Regions from separate parts of the Homo sapiens genome. Here all the other regions are linked to region 3. Evidence: promoter capture Hi-C in 16 types of primary human blood cells and fetal thymus (Javierre and others, 2016). All regions are on one chromosome and are shown on one strand. The core of a region is centred on a gene start or on the middle of the fragment in contact, and the rest is flanking DNA. Distances in the headings are between cores, read along the strand shown. Region 1 overlaps CISD1 (CDGSH iron sulfur domain 1). Region 2 has its middle 32 kb from the start of UBE2D1. Region 3 holds the start of TFAM (transcription factor A, mitochondrial).

Region 1 (3,627 bases), core at 1,116-3,615, 100 kb before region 3:
TTTCAAATCTAATTCATTCTTAAGGTGCAGTCACTAGTAACCTGTTGTGTGTCTGTAACATCTTGAGCAGGTTTCCCAACCCTAATGAATCAGATTTCTTAGTAATGTGCAGAAATTACATTTTTTAAAAACATATCCCTCCCTTTTGTCCAGTGCTTCTCTTGCCAGCATTGGTATGTCATCTGATGTTTCAGAAATTGGCTTGGCTTTTTTTTTTTTTCTTTTTCTTGAGAGAGTCTCACTCTGTCACCCAGGCTGGAGTACAGTGTCGTGATCTCAGCTCACTACAACCTCCACCTTCTGGGTTCAAGCAATTCTCGTGTTTCAGCCTCCTGAGTAGCCGTGATTACAGGCATGCACAACCATGCCTGGCTAATTTTTGTATTCTTAGTAGAGACAGGGTTTCACCATGTTGGCCAGGCTGATCTTGAACTCCTGACCTCAAGTGATCCACCCGCCTTGGCCTCCCAGAGTGCTGGGATTGCAGGTGTCATCCACTGTGTCCGGCCCAGAAATTGGTTTATTTTATAGTACAGGCTTCCCTCGGTGTCCATGGATTGGTTCCAGGACCTCCCATGGATACCAAAATCTGAGAATGCTCAAGCCCCTGATTTAAAATGACAGTATTTGCCTATAAGCTATGCACATAATCCTGTATACTTTAAATTATTACGTCATCTCTTGATTGCAAATAATACCTAATACAGTGTGAATGCTATGTAAATAGTTGTTATACTGTATTGTTTAGAGAATAATGACAAGGAAAAAAGTGTACATGCTCAGTACCCATACAATTATTTTAGCGAGTATTTTCTATCAGCAGTTGGTTGCATCCATGGATGTGGAACCCACAGATACAGATGGGGCCAATTGTATTTCACAAAAGGGCTATCCATATTTGAAGTGAGAATGAAAGGAGCCAGTATAGAGGAAATGATTAAAGTGACTACAGGGAAAGATACTATTTGAGTCAGCGGTATCTTGACAAAGGGTGGAAGGAAATGAGAGTAACAGCACAGATGTGAAACTCAGCCTTAAAAAGGAAGAGATAGTCTTACTTTCGAAACAAGAAGATGAAAGGACTCTGATGTAAGAGGGAAGGGTATGGGATGTAGTATTGCTAGGTTCCTTTCCCTGCAACTTCAGGTTGGTTACATCACTTGCTGAGTTGTATGACGGCCACCTAGGAGGCAGTTCAAACAAGGACAGCAAAAGAATACAGACTAAGAAGAAAGAGAGGAAAGTCTTACCAGTTAACATCAGGAGCTGAACTGAAATTGAAATGAAATGCAACTGGACATGTTTAGACTCATTTTCTTTCATTTACAGGGTAAGATTTGAGTTAATGATACTTTTGTTTTGTCGTTGGTAGTAGGCTTGATCCTGGGTGTTTTTTTTTGGCGGGAGGGTGTTGGGGGAAAAAGAGAAATCCTCCATCCTGTTAATGGCTTAGAAGTGCATTTTACTGAGTCTTTCTTCATAAAAACGATATTCTGAATGTTGGTGACATTCCTTGGCCAATCCACATAAAGACAGTCTTATAAAAATCTTAATTTATCTTTGTACATTTTCATATTATAGCTACTGTCTTAGGTTTATTGAAATAGGTACATAAGAATGGTATAAAATGTCATAATCTCTAGGTTAGTCTCAAAAATCTCATTACTTCGTTTTCGTTCTCAACCAAAGCAAGCATATTTTTCTGGACAGTTTATGGTAATGAGCCAAAATGGTGCCAGGCAACTTCCTTGGGACAGAAAATCAAAACTCTAATACAAAGTACGAAGTTCAGAGAAGGAAGATAGTCTTTAAAAGAAAATTGTTTCAGGTGGAAGAGATAAGTCAAAGAGGAGCATTTATTAAAACAGAGGCATAACTTGAGATGTGGGGCCATTAAAAAGAAATGTTGTGTTTTTATGAAGATCCATATAGCATTGCTAGCTTTCCAGGTGGAGAGCAAGGACCTCCACTGTTTTTTCTACTAAAGCTTTATTCCAACTTCTTCTAACCCTTTCTTCCCCCACTTTTAAAGATATTTGGGATTTGTAGTGTTCAAATTGGGTTAACAAACATAAAAGGATGTTTTCTGGACATAAAGGAAATTTGATTTACAGACTTTTTCCAGGATTTGTTAATAAACAAACGCTGACATCTTAGAATAAATTAAGTATCAATACTACACGAACTGAATTTAATATTCTTTGTGTTTTTTTCATAATTTAAAACAATTTAACAAATTTCAAAATGTTTAATGAAAAAGTTAATAAAATTCTCATATTTTTGTACATTATTTAATGTAAAAATTACTGTACTTCCTACATTGTATTTGAAAGTATATAATGCCAGACACAGTCGCTTAGGCCTGTAATTCCAACACTTTGAGAATGTAACAGCCAATGTAGTGAAACCTTGTCTCCACAAAAAAATGCAGAAATTAGTTGAGTGTGATGGCATGCACCTATAGTCCTAGCTACTCAGGAGGCTGAGATGGAAGGATCCCTTGAGCCTGGGAGATTGAGGCTTCAGTAAGCTGCGATTGCACCACTGTGCAATCTAATTTAATCTCTTAAAAAAAAAAAAAACTGTATACCCACCACATATTATCTTTCTCCTGCATAGATCAGAAATAAAGCAAGACACATAAGGCAGTAATTCCTAGGGTTAAGTGATATAAAAAGTACTATTAAAAAATACGTCTCTGCACAAAATTATTTTTAACACCTAGTTTGCATTATAAAGGCATAAAAGCTTTATACACTTTAATCGCATGAAAGTTTATTAACAAATAACCAGGATAAACTACTCATTGCTTTTTAAAGAAATATGTGTTTGCTTTTAAGAATATGAAGAAACAGGCTAATTTCAGTTTTTAGGCAGAATTGGGTGATGAGAAAAAATGTATTCTCACTTTTGATATATGACTTTCTTTATATTTTGTAAGATTTTCTTTGTATATTTTTTCTATAGATTTCTCTCCTATTCTGTATATGGAGGAAAATAATTTGAGAAAATGTTAGTTTCTAATATTTTCAACATAAGATTAAAAAATAAAAGTTAAACATGCCATTTCAGTAAGTTATTTAGAAATATTTCATTTTTCAGAAATGTTGCCTGCATGGATTTAATTTATAGTGAAGTGTTTTGTGTGTGCTATTTATAAAAAGAGTCTTTACAATGTAAACTTTTATGCTCACTGTAAAATCATCTGTGTTTGTTTATTAAACATATGTCACTTTGAAATGCTGTACTTTGCTGTGGGATACATTTTAGTTTAATTTTTATCGCCTCTTTCCTCATCCATGCCAAGAAAAAACTGAAAGCTTGACTTTATGTTTTTGCATCAAGGCTTGTTTCTAATATGAATATACTGTGTACCACATCTTATTGACCTCAAAAAAAGAAATAATATAAACTTTACATATATTACATTTACACTGCCCTCTACGACAGGATAGAATTTATATCTGGAAATATAAGATATGCCAATACCTTGAGTTTTTCTGTAATTTTTAGCTAATTTAGTGCCTCTTGCAATTATTTACAGATAGATTAAAATTTGATTACTTTAACATTAAGTAGCCTTTTGGATATCAAAGTTTAAGATTAAATACCATCATTGTGAAGTTT
Region 2 (3,750 bases), core at 608-3,107, 83 kb before region 3:
TAAACTAGATTTTATAAGAACCTGCCTGCTAATGAATACTATTATTTCTGCATAGGGTTTTATAGAGATTTTAAAATGCTTCTCATATATCATCTCAGTTGATCTTCACAGCAAATCTGTAAAGTTGGTAGGGTTTATTGGTCCTTATTTTATAGATGGCCTGAAAAGTTAGGTGCCTTGCAAAGGTCATGCCATTAACAAAGAAGGTATATAATGTTGACGTGAAGTCCTATATGCTTTCTGCAGCAACAGATCACCTCTTGTATCATGACCAAATGTGAATCTAACTCATTTTAATTCATTTTTTCTCTTCTGTCCCTTCCTCTATCTCCATGCTTCTTTTTTGAAGATCTTCCCTTAATTTTTTTTTCCTGAAGCCTACAAATTTCTCCCACTTATTTATCTCTTTATTATTTATGTAGCTCTGATCCTTCAGGCTACACACCTTTTGCAAGGATATGGATAATGTCTACTTTCCTTTGATTTTTTTGTCCTCCTCCTGTTTGTTCTATTCTGACTCTAGAGACAACAGGCTATTTGGCATAGATTTTATATGTGAATTGGTCCCTTTCCTTCTTATCTGAGGCATTTAAGCATGAGTTGACCCAAATTGACATGCTCTCTGGACTTCTATTCATTACACAGACTTCAGCTTCCACAACATCTAAAATAGTCTCTAACTGGATATCAGATTTCAGAGTGGTTTTTTTTTTTTTTTGGGACTTACTGGTCACAGTGCCACCAAACCTTTATATTCTCAGGTCCACATATCAAAAATCTGCCCTGGATTATAATATTATGCTGCTTTACCACAATATGTCTTCCACCTAATCATATGATCTCCAACAATTTTATTCCTGAATAATAATGTATGTAGACAAATATTTAGCTTGCTGCTTAATCCTGTGTCCTTTAAAAACTGTTCTTCAGATCTTATTTCTTCAGATGTTTCTTCACACATAAACCATAAGCTTTACATCACACTCCATCACAGTCTGTCTAAAACTAGGCAAAATGGGATTTCACATCAAAGTTTCACCTATATAATCCCTGAGGACCAGCTGACTTGGAAATTAATCCTAGCAACAGATAATCTTCGCAGAGATTTCTGATGAAGTGTTTTTTTCCCTGAGACATTGCTGGCAGTCCTTTTTAATTCCGGTGACCTTAGAGGAATAAGCAGATGTCCCAACCCTATCAGAAGTTCCTTTTGCCTTTTCCCCTCCTCAAGGTACAGCAGAATTTATCTCTCTGCTTTTTTTTGTTCCATCCTTTATACATTTAAAAAAAGAGAGAGATGTTACAACATTTCTTTTGCTTCTTTTTCTGCTACCTTTCTACTCTTTGAGACGACTATTATCAGACAAAGCTGGCTGCAGATCTTGGCTCCACCCCACTTTATCACCTGTGTGACCCTCAGCAAATGAACCTCTGAATCTCTGAACCTCAGACTCTGTGTGTGTAATATACAAAAGGTGATAGCTACTTCAAAAGGCTGTTGTCAGGAACAAGGCAGATAATATACCTAAAGCACGTAGCACAATGTCTGGTTCATAATAAGTGCCAAGACACCATGTTATTATTTATTATTATTATTTTTCCTCTTCTCAATTTCAGTTCTTCCCAGTGCTTACTTCCCAATTACTTCATGGCATAATCTTTTTACTCTCCATCAATTATTTTTCAAGGACTCTATTCCCTCTCAAAGTGGACTACTAGCTAACCTTCTACCAAAGCAGCCATCAATATTCAGGACGCCAATAATACTGATTAAATATTCACTGTAATGTCTAGTCCTATATTAGACATGATGACCTCAGAGATGTAAACTGACCTCAGAGAGAAGGGCTCTTAAACAGCTAGAACTCCCACGTTTCGATTCCTGGACAATCCGCAAATAAACATCCAAAGTAGATACATTTGCATTTGTCTTCCCATTGTCTTTTGATTACTCTATTTAATTTTTTAAAAATCTGAAAATAAACATTTATGAATAATGTCCATATGAACTAATGGATTAAATCTGAACCCCTCACTGGATATTCAAGGCCCTTCATAATATAGCCCTAACTTAACTTTCTTATCATTAAATACTCCCTAATGCCTGCCTTACGTTTCAGCCCTTGTCATTATTCATTATTCTGCAGTATTTGCCTTCACATTTTGGCCTCCGTATCTTTGCTTATGCTATTCCATTTGCATATGTCTTCTCTCATTCTTTTTTTATGTTAAACATTACCTATTCTTAATGTCCATTTCAAATTCTCTGTCCTCTGACATCACTGACAATCTTACTCCTTTTGCATTTCCGAAACACTCATATGCAGGTATCTATTCATTCAGGGAACAAGTACAAGGTATCATACTGATGCTTTGGATACAAAGATTAATTTTTAAAATTTAAAACAATTCCAGCCTAGCAGGAAAACTAATAATAATACCTATAAAACAGAATAACTAGTGTTAAAATAAAAGTATATGCAAAGTACAGTTGTTCAGTCTATTCAAATTCTGTTCTTGGGGGCTACAGGGTGGTTAGACTGACTGTCTTTCCAGAGAAAGTGGCACTTGAATTGGCACACAAAGAATAGATGAGATGTGCCCAGTCCAAGAATAAGAGGAAGTTAAGAGGGGCTGTGGGGGTAGGGGATGGGGGGCGGGAAGCCACTGGGGAAAAGAAGAGGCATTAGGTTGCGTAGTATGCTAGTGTAGATCAAGGTTATTCAGTGTAGTTCTTCAAGACCAAGCTTGACTACCCCTCTGGCACTGTCATCCTTCATCTGCAACCCATACCCTAGAAATCAGCTATTCCAATCTAATCTAGATCCCACACCAAGCTGCTCTAATTTCTTGCAACACCTCCCCACGTCTCTCTTTCTTTCTCTTTCTTTCTTTGCTTTTGTCTTTCTTTCTTTTCTTTCTTTCTCTTTCTCCTTCTTTCTTTTCTTTCTTGACAGAGTCTTGCTCTGTCACTCAGGCTGGAGTGCAGTGGCGTGATCTTGAGTTCACAGCAGACTTAACCTCTTGGGTTCAAGCAGTTCTCCCACCTCAGCCTCATGAGGAGCTGGCACTACAGGCATGTGCCATCACACTCAGCTAATTTTTGTATTTTTTTGTAGAGACAGCGTTTCACCATGTTGCCCAGGCTGGTCTTTTTTTTTTTTTTTCCTGGGTAAATCTGCATATTGCTTCCTCTGCAGAGCCATCCCTACTCCTTCAGTCAGGTAAATTAGGTGCCCCTTCCTTATGGCCCTTAGAACTGTGCATAGCTTTTGTCAATAGTTTTACAATGACTATAAACCTTTTTACTTAAGCTATAAAGTCTTATATATTTCCCTGCTGTCTAACATATGTTGAATGAATGAATGAGTCAATGGGCACCTGTTATGTGCCAGAAATTCTGGTAGGCCCTAGGAGGGAAAGTGCAGTAAGACATAATTCTTGCCCTTAAGGAGTTTAAAGCTCAGATGTGTCATAAGGGGTGTATCAGTGGCTGAGGATGAAGGGAGAAGAGAGAAGGAGGTATTGAGTTGTGGGAGCCATTGGCCGAGACTGGAGAGAGGAGACAAGGAGACGGATTCCCTTTGTGTGTTCCCAGCACCTACCAACATAAAGACTGAAAGCTGTTGGACTCATGCTCAAAAGAATCATAGGCAAGTTGTGTTTGTCCCATTAAGCTAACATTTAAAAATCAGAAGATTTTATCCAAAAGATGGATTTCCAACTTCTTTTGAATGATCTGGTAACATG
Region 3 (3,775 bases), core at 1-2,500:
TTCCATGCCAGAATGGGAGGTTTGAACAGATGACTTGGAAGGTCCCTTTCAACCCTGGGAGTCTATAAAAGGGAAGTGGTTATTACCGCTTAAAAGAAGAAGTAGGCTTAGTCCTACTTCCAGAGAGCCAATGTTTTCATAGTTACAGAAAGGTAAATAGACTGTCAGCTCAATATGACACTGGTAAGAATTTTCTAACAATTACGGCTATCCAACAGAAGAAAGGCTGTCTCAGAAGGTGGTTAGCTCTGAAACAACTGGTATTTAAGGGCTGGAAGGACCCTTAGGTATCTTTAGGTCTTCCTAATCTTTTTCATGCCATTGCCTATACAGAAAATGGTATTTCTATAACACAAATAAAAAAATTATACAGCAATTTTTGACACATCAATGTCTCAAGGCATACTTGTCACACGTTCTCAGGGCTTTGGCTGGGAAAACTGATTTAGTCTAACATCCTCGTTTGCAGAGGGGGAAACTGAATCTTAACGAGGGAATGCAATATTCCCAAGTCAAGACGTTAATGTTAATACTGGAACTAGAAGAATTGAGACTAGCGACTGTGGACAACTAGCCAGTTTCCTCTGCTCAAATTAAGCAAGCTGGAGGCCAGACTGAAAGACTGCAGTAGATGGTAGAATAAACAGTCTAAAGCTATATTGCTTTAAATGTGGTCTCAAGACCACCGACATTAGAACTTGTTAAATTCTGGGGAACTCGCTAAAATGAAGATTAATGGGCCCCACATAGACACACGGAATTAAGCTCTGCGGTAAGGCCTTGGAATCTGCATTTTTAGGTTTGCGAATCCCCGCCTCTCCCGTTACTATTTCTGAACTCCGAGCTCCAGCCCTGGCTTGAACTGAGACGCTCCGCTGGGCGCGCAGCAGCCGCCGATCGGACCTCGGGGTCCTGGATGCAGGACTGTCTGTTACGTACAGCCCTTGTGACCGTCACGGGCGGACACCGGCCAACGCCGGGTTGGGGTGAGGCCGCCGCCGCGGTCCCTCCATCACCCTCCTGGCCCGGCAGAGGAACCCACTGCTCCGGGCGGCCGGGGACAGAGGTGGCTCAACAGCGCCGCCTCGAAGCCAGAGCCCTCCGCAGGCTAGAGGATTGCGGTTTCCCTTCATCTCCGCGGCTCTTATTCCTCCCCCGCAAGGCCGCCCACCGGGGTACGCTCTCCCGCGCCTGCGCCAATTCCGCCCCGCCCCGCCCCCATCTACCGACCGGATGTTAGCAGATTTCCCATAGTGCCTCGCTAGTGGCGGGCATGATAACACACGCCGGAGGGTCGCACGCGGGTTCCAGTTGTGATTGCTGGAGTTGTGTATTGCCAGGAGGCTCTCCGAGATTGGGGTCGGGTCACTGCCTCATCCACCGGAGCGATGGCGTTTCTCCGAAGCATGTGGGGCGTGCTGAGTGCCCTGGGAAGGTCTGGAGCAGAGCTGTGCACCGGCTGTGGAAGTCGACTGCGCTCCCCCTTCAGGTAGGCCCGCTTGCCTGTGCCCTAGGGGCAGCAGGGCCCAGGACGTCCCGGGGTTGGAATGTAGACCCTATCCTTCACTTTCTGCCCCTCCTAGGAGTTCAGAGTCACCCTGGTTCTTTGATTCAGACCGCGACCTTGCCAAGGGGACGGTGGCCTTGAGACCAGGCCTTTATTTACTCTCTTAATACGCCGTACCTTCTTGCTACCCTCCACTCGCTTCTCCCATCCCTCCTCACTGTCCAGCTTTGGATCCTTTCCGCCTCCTCTGCGAATTCGCGCCGAGTCTCCGGCCATCATCTAGGCATTGAGGAGGCGGGGCCCAGGAGCTGGAGTATAGACGCTTTCCTTCACTCCCTGCCCTTCCTAGGAGGTAAGGGCTTTGAGACTTCAGTCCTGCAGACGCTCCCCTCCGTTTAGGACAGGGTTTTAATAAGTCTCTAGCATTCTTGTTGAAGGCGTTGGATACATAGTATCTTGATGACATTTCTTATTTGGGATCTGTGTTCATATACATGTGAATATTGACAGTTAAACATCTGACACTGGTTATTTTCTTTTTGTTTATATGTAGTTTTGTGTATTTACCGAGGTGGTTTTCATCTGTCTTGGCAAGTTGTCCAAAGAAACCTGTAAGTTCTTACCTTCGATTTTCTAAAGAACAACTACCCATATTTAAAGCTCAGAACCCAGGTAAGGAGTTTTGGGGCATATACCCTTTTCTCATGTAATAAAAATGCCATTAAGCAGTTAAATACCAATGTTGAATTGCAGTGCTAAAGCATTCAGTGACTGCAGGAACAATCATTTGATGTCTGTAAAATAGGAAGTTCTATTTTATACCAAATGGAAATGCTTTAAATATAAATGAGAACTAGTAAATGGTATTTTAAAAATAACGTATAGTGTAGAAAGCACCCTAGGAAGAGGATAAAAAAGCTGAATTTGGGGCCTTGTTGCCTTTGGTCTAGAGGACCACTGATGAATTATTTTCTCTTGCCTAGCTCCTCCTTTTTCTGGCTCAGGGAATTGTTAATAAAGTTGCAACTTCTGTGGAAGCATCCATAAACTGTAAGTTCTGTAGAACTGTAAAGTTCTATGCAATTTACTGCTAATTTCAAGAGCTTTCAAGATAAGAAAGGATAAACCTTTTCATCATAGGAGTTCAGAGCCACTCTGGTTCTTTGATTCAGACCTCGACCTTGCCAAGGGGATGGTGGGTTGTAAAGGATAAATCCTTTCTTGTCTTGGGTTCCTAAAAAAAAAACATTTCCAGGTAGGATGTTTGTTGACTCTCTAGAAAGCCTCTCGGCGAGAATAAAAAATGCTCACATCAGGCTGGGTGAGGTGGTTCACACCTGTAATCCCAGCACTTCGGGAGGTCGAGATGGGTGGATTGCTTGAGCCCAGGAGTTCGAGAACAGCCTGGGAAACATGGAAATCCTGTCTCTACCAAAAATACAAAAATGAGGTGGGCATGGGGGCGCAGTGCCTGTAGTCCCAGCTACTTGGGAGGCTGTGGTGAGAGGATCACTGGATCCCAGGAAGTTGAGGCTGCAGTGAGCCATGACTGCTCCACTGCACTCCAGCCTGGGTGACAGAGCGAGACCCTGTCTCAAAAAACAATAATAATTTTAAAAAAAAGCTCACATTATAGGTAAGGAGTTAGTTTCAGAGACATGCTTAAGTACCCACATCTTTTAAATGTAAGAGTTAGTACTAACAGGTATTTTTAAAAATCAATTAATTGCACGCCATCATTCCGGTTAAGATGAAGAAGGAAGTGGAGAATAACAGATTGAATTTCGAATAGCTTGTTTCCAAATGATATTTCTGTTATTGAAATACGAGGCTGTGTTATATGGATCGAGAATGTATTTTGTTGTTAGCTTTTATAAATTTAGGAATTCCTCAAAGACTTGAAAAAGTGTTTTGCTTGAAATATGGAAGGGAAGTAAAAAACTTGAAGCAATTGATCATCCAGCTTCTTAAACTAGTAATCAGCCTGGTGTGGTGGCTCGCGCCTGTAATCCCAGCACTTTGGGAGACTGAGGCAGATGGATTGCTTGAACTCAGGAGTTTGAGGCCAGCCTGGGCAGCATAGCGAAACCCCGTCTCTACAAAAAATACTAACATTAGCTGGACATGATGGCGCCTACCTGTAGTCCCAGCTACTCGGGAGGCTGAGGCAGGAGAATCACTTGAGCACAGGAGGTGGAGGTTGCATTAGGCCAAGATTGTACCACCGCACTGCAGCCTGGGTGATGGCCTGGGTGACGGACCCTGTCT

The links. Contacts are between HindIII fragments. The CHiCAGO score rates a contact against its expected background, and 5 or more counts as called.
Region 1: a fragment that was not itself captured here is called in contact with the fragment with the promoter of TFAM in region 3 in 15 of 17 cell types (monocytes, activated CD4 T cells, non-activated CD4 T cells and 12 more); the score reaches 15.9 in monocytes.
Region 2: a fragment that was not itself captured here is called in contact with the fragment with the promoter of TFAM in region 3 in 16 of 17 cell types (monocytes, neutrophils, total CD4 T cells and 13 more); the score reaches 15.0 in monocytes.

Annotation. Positions count from the first base shown.
Region 1 is chr10:58,281,753-58,285,379 of GRCh38, forward strand. The region is part of intron 2 of CISD1 (CDGSH iron sulfur domain 1); the gene reads left to right. Among named protein-coding and RNA genes, the nearest start is that of CISD1, 14 kb to the left of the region's middle. The HindIII fragment of the contact is 761 bases long and covers 1,986-2,746 here.
Region 2 is chr10:58,301,024-58,304,773 of GRCh38, forward strand. No RefSeq gene overlaps it. Among named protein-coding and RNA genes, the nearest start is that of UBE2D1, 32 kb to the right of the region's middle. The HindIII fragment of the contact is 1,776 bases long and covers 970-2,745 here.
Region 3 is chr10:58,384,160-58,387,934 of GRCh38, forward strand. It overlaps TFAM (transcription factor A, mitochondrial), which reads left to right and starts at 1,251. Exons shown (of 7, transcript NM_003201.3): 1 at 1,251-1,489; 2 at 2,061-2,179. The coding sequence starts at 1,389. RefSeq lists enhancers at 702-801, 995-1,651 and a silencer at 932-1,311. The HindIII fragment of the contact is 8,486 bases long and covers 1-3,775 here.